2 separate regions of the Homo sapiens genome follow, and region 2 is linked to region 1. Evidence: promoter capture Hi-C in human tissues and cell types (Jung and others, 2019). All regions are on one chromosome and are shown on one strand. The core of a region is centred on a gene start or on the middle of the fragment in contact, and the rest is flanking DNA. Distances in the headings are between cores, read along the strand shown.

Region 1 (2,700 bases), core at 161-2,660:
TTCCTGTTATAACAGGGTACCTTCGTTCTCTCCCAGCATATGCCACACCTTTTAGGTTGACAAAAGCAGAAAGACATCGGGGCTTTGTGTTTTAAAAATCCCAAAAAAGACTACTCAAACCTCTCCCCAAGAGCAAATTCTAAGAAGGAAGAATACCACCTCCCTTTTCTTTACCACAAACCCCTGACTTACCGTCTCTAGCAACCAGAGAGGGCTGGGGGTAGGGGAGAGGGTGGTTAGAAAACAGAACGCACGACTCGGTCATATCCTAGCCCGGCCCATCCCAAACTTCACCTAGGCACGGCGAGAAGCAGGACGGCATCAGGAATTCCTAGGAAATGGTCTCACCCCATCAGAGAACATTTTTAACTTCCTAGAAGCCACCATTTCCCCGGGGCATTATCACACACTCCCACCCGGACATATTACCTAAGAGAGTACTTATAAAAAGAGCGTAACACACACACAAAGAAATACACAGTACTTGAAGCGGGCAGCTCCGGCTCAGGCGGCGCGGGGAAGCCCGGAGACCACGCGGAGCCGCGGCCAAGTTGCCACCGCTATCGCCCCGACGGTGAAGGCGCGGCCGCAGGCGGCTGGAAAAGCAGCGCGCGGGGCTCCAGCTCCAGCCCCACGCCCGGACCCTCGGAGCAGTAAAGCCCGGCTCGGTGGCCCAGCCTCTCCCGGAGGTCTCTGGCCTCGGCCAGAGCAATAAGGTGGATCGGTGCTTCCCACCCTTCCAGCTCCGCCCTCCCGACCACATTCCTGAGAAGCCCTACTCCCGCGACGCCGCGCCCGGGAGGAGGCAGGAGCGCGACGCTGCGGCCGCAGGGCAGGAGCGTAGTCGGCCCCGCGCCCTCCCGCCCCCTGGCCCCGGCCCGGGCCCGCGAGGCGCCTCTGGGGCGAGGTCGCGGCGGCCGCCCCGCCACAGGTAGCGCCAGCCCCCGCCCGCCGCCGCTCCGGCGCCCCGGGCAGGCCCGCTCCAGGTACCTGGATGAACTGGATGGTGAGCGCCGACTTGCCCACGCCGCCCCCGCCGACCACCACGAGCCGGTACTTCTCCTGGCCGGAGCCGTCCCGCCAGCCGGCCGCGGCCATGGGGACGCTACAGAGCCCAGCCTGACTGCGCCGAGCCGCCGCTGCCGCCCGCCCTAGGCCCGGCTCCGGGGACGTGTGCGGCCGGCGGGCTGCGGGCGAGCGGCCGGGCTGGGGTCCCGGGTACCGGGAGGCGTCTGGAGGGCCGGTCAGCGCGGTAGCGCGGCGCTGGGGACTGGCTGGGTACCGCCCGAGGCGCGGAGAAGCGGGGTGACGGCACGGGCCAGGGGCGGCAGCGGCCGGGGGGCGCGCTCCTCTACGCGTCTCCGCAGCGCCTGCCGAACGCAGCCTCCAGCGCCGCCACAAATGGCCGTCTGGGGGCCGGGCTGCCAGGCTGAGGTGCTGCATATGCATGAGGGGGCGGGGAGGGGCGGGGCCGCGCCGCTTGGGGCTGAGGTTCGGGAGGTAACCCGGGCTTCAGACCCCCACGGACACACCGCTCTAATCCCTAGCCAGTGAGCGAGTGCGTGAGAGTGTGGGAGTGGGTGTCAGTTGGGAGTGGGACGAAGGCAGAAAGAGTGTGTCACCCTAATTGTCTATGTAAGGGATTGTGTGGATGAAAAATACAATATGTGACGGCGTGTGCGAAAAATAGGGCTGTTGGCATATTAACTCAATTTTATAGGAGAGTACATACCCTGCTTTAAGAGTACAGATGGTGACCATATTTGTGTGAAAAACAGTATGTGACAGTGATTGAGGATTAGAGCTGTGTCACAGTAATTGAGTGTGTGATGGGCTGGTGGTTGTGACAGTGTGAAGAATGGGACAGTGGCTGAGCATGGAGAATAAGTCAGTGATTGAGCTTGCATGGGCAAGACGGAATGTGACAGATTTTGTATGTGTCAGTACAGTGTCATAGTGGCTATGTTTATGTGTGACAAATGTGCAGTAATTGGATATGAGGAGTGTGAGTGCGAGGGGTTGAACTCCTGGCCTCAAGCAATCCTCCCGCCTCGGCCTCCCAAAGTGCTGGAATTACAGGTGTGAGTCACTGCACCCGGCCTCATGGGGTTTTTAATAAGAATTAAATGAGCACATAAAACAGTGCTGCTACACAGGAAGCATTTACAGCAATCTTGGAACATGACTGCAAGTTCTTGGACTTCACTTGGTAACTCATTTGGAACCAGTAGAATGCAGCAGAAGAGATGCTGCCTAATTTCCCAGGCTAGATCAGAAGAGGCCATGCAGCTGTTCTCTTGGTATTCTCACTCCGGGAGGAACAAAGTCAGAAGTTTGACTATCATAAGACTGCCATGCTAAAGAGGCTACATGTAGGCATGCCAGTCGAAGTCTGATTGATGGCCAGGAGCAACATGCCATTTAAAAAAAAAAAAAAAAAGTCCCACTGAGCTCCCACCAGATCACCAGCATCACCTGCCAGCCATCTAAGTGAGACATCTTGGACACTCAGCCTAATCGAGCCTTCCAATGACGGCATCCCCTGTTAGCATCTGAATGCAACTGCGTGAGAGACCCCAAGCAAAAATACCCATCCAGGCCAGCCCATCCTGAATTCCTTTTTTAAAAATCTTTTTTTTTTCTTTTTTGAGACAAGATCCCTCTGTCACCCAGGCTGAAGTGTAGTGGCACAATCATGGC
Region 2 (2,700 bases), core at 35-2,534, 64 kb before region 1:
GAAAAAAATCCAAATACTGCAATTTAAATGAAAGCCATTCTCTACATGAAGTTAATTTAGTATTAACACCGAATAACTTAGGCCTTTAGTGGTAACTTTGAAATTATCCAACTAAGTTAGAGTTTTGGATGTAATCCAAGAAATTATTACATGCGAATAAAGCTAGTTTAAACACTTGCAGGCTTATAAAGTCTTATAAAATTTTATGAAAAACTATTTGAAAATAAGGAATTTTAATTTCCCCAAATCTACTTCCTTTTTATTTTTCACCCGCTGTGACTTCTGTAAATACAGTGTGCCAGACTCAGCTATAAACACTTAAGTGGCATGGAGCACCGTATTTTTTTTTTACTAGACTTTCAATTATTTCCTTAAATCTATCAGTTCACTCACATGATTATAAACAATTGGTTTCCCAACAGTGAAATTCCTTCTCACCTGTCTTTGATGATCCAGATCTGCTTTATTACCAATTAAAATCATTGGGAACTCATCACGATCCTTTACTCTGAGAATCTGTCTTTGAAACTTATAGATTTCTTCAAAACTTAAAAAAAAAAAATCAAAAACAAATTAATCAATTTGGTCAAGTATCAGAATTCAGCAAGTCTCATGCCCCAATTAGTACTTTATTTTTCCTTTTTCTATAAAAACAAAAAGTCCAAACTCAATAAAGTCTAGTGATCTTGACAAGAACAGTGGATCTACATTCTAATATGGTACAAACCTGCCTCTATCTGTGACTGAAAAGACCAACAGGAAGCCTTCGCCAGTCCTCATATACTGTTCTCTCATGGCTCCAAACTCTTCTTGTCCTGCTGTATCCAAAACTAAAGAAAAAACAACAAATGTAATTATACTTGTTTTTTATAAACTGCTTCCCCACAAGGGCAAGACCAATTAATGTGAGTCCTCTAGAGAGCCTCATACTTGGTATAATACAGAAATGGCATTCCTTTCTTAGTACTTTATTCTTAATACTAAAGGCAAATATATTCTAATGGCAGACAGTTACAGAGTTTATCTTCATCAGTATGGGTTGACTTTGTGGTTAGAATATATTAGCACACTAATTAGAAGCTTAAAAATATCAAACACATTTAATCAGATGGAGTCAGGTGACCTCTAAAATCACTTGAATGTTTTATCCCCTCCATGGAAAAAACTGAAAAAGATACCTGTAAATTCAAGAAAGAAATCTGAGTTATAACCACTATCCCCCAATACCATACTTAGTGCAGGTGCTAATGTAACTTTTGATCTCTGTAAATAAAAGAATCATACATATTAGAAGAATAGAGCTTTCTTTGTGGAGAGGGGGGATGTTTAGACACAAAACAGTACTTGCTAAAGTCTCTGTGCTATAAATTCTAAGTAACAGTATCAAACTTTTTCTATATTCACTTCATCCATTTTAACCTTTGCCAAAAGGTAGGAAGAGTTGAGACCTGACAGGTTTTTTCCAGTTGTCCCAATAAAATCAACTTCAACAAACTGCAATGAGACCAGTTTCACTAGAACAAGATCAATACAAATATCGTTTTACTTTTCATTTATTGAGGAATATTTAAATTACCCATTATGCAGACTCTTCAATCAAAACTTATAAATGACATGGGCTAATATTCCAGATCATCTAATATTTCAAATATATTATTTAACATAGCAAAACATCAGCGCTTACTTTTTTAAAAAATATGATATGCAAATTATCAAACAAAGGAAGTTTACTTACTATCTAGCCGGGCTGCTCTGTCATCTATCACACACTGCTTTGTGTAAGAATCTTCAATGGTTGGATCATAATCCGTTACAAAATAGGACTGCAAGAAAAGAAAAAACTTTATTTTAAAATTCATGGCCAGGCATGGTAGCTCACACCTGTAATCCTATGCTCTGGGAGGCCGAGGGAGAAGGATCACTTGAGGCCAGGAGTTTGAGACCAGCCTGGGCAACACAGCAAGACTCTTATCTCTTAAAAAAAAATTAAAAAATTAAAAAATTAGCCGACGTGGTGTGTACCTGTGGTCTCTGTTACTTGGGAGGCTGATGTGGGAGGATCACTTGAGCCCAGGTGGTTGGGGCTGCAATGAACCATGATTGTGCCACTGTACTCCAGCCTGGGAGACAGGACAAGACCCTGTCTCAAAAATAAAAATAAATAAAATAAATAGAATAAAAAATAAAATAAAATTTATGATTACCTGCCTACCAATGTACCAATGTAACTTTGCTTAACAAATTCCACTTATCCAGAACTAATCAAAACATTTTCACTGTACTAGGGTTTACCCTCTATGACAATTCCCCACCAAATGTTCTTATGAGCACCTTCACGTGAAGAAAAGGTACTAGGTATCTCTAAATTTTCATATCTGAAATATGCAAGACTGTAAAAGATCTACAACTTTTTTCATAATTATTTAAGGTTAAGAATCTAGATCTCAAACTCTAGAAAAATTAGAAAACACAGTAAGTTATAATTCAGACCTATTTGAATTAGCAACCTGATTATAATCATCAGTCCTAAGAAGTCAAGTATCTGGAAAAAATGGAGACAACACAAAGAGGCCTGGAACATTTCATCTTATACCTTTCTTTTCTCACACTTTGTCTTATTCCCCTTTCAACTGCCTTATGTACTACAAGAAAATATCATTTTGAAATTTTTTCATTAGTAGGAACCTCAAACTTACTCTT

The links. Contacts are between HindIII fragments. The study calls those that stand out against the background at their distance.
Region 2: a contact is called between a fragment that was not itself captured here and the fragment with the promoter of RRAS2 in region 1, in 1 of the 25 tissues and cell types used here (aorta).

The regions. Positions count from the first base shown.
Region 1 is chr11:14,357,773-14,360,472 of GRCh38, forward strand. RRAS2 (RAS related 2) reads right to left here and starts at 1,411. Exons shown (of 6, transcript NM_012250.6): 1 at 991-1,411. The coding sequence starts at 1,098. RefSeq lists an enhancer at 241-340 and silencers at 581-700, 741-940, 1,011-1,510. The HindIII fragment of the contact is 8,284 bases long and covers 288-2,700 here.
Region 2 is chr11:14,294,033-14,296,732 of GRCh38, forward strand. RRAS2 (RAS related 2) reads right to left here. Exons shown (of 6, transcript NM_012250.6): 2 at 1,736-1,823; 3 at 728-830; 4 at 439-547. Among named protein-coding and RNA genes, the nearest start is that of RRAS2, 64 kb to the right of the region's middle. The HindIII fragment of the contact is 7,091 bases long and covers 1-2,700 here.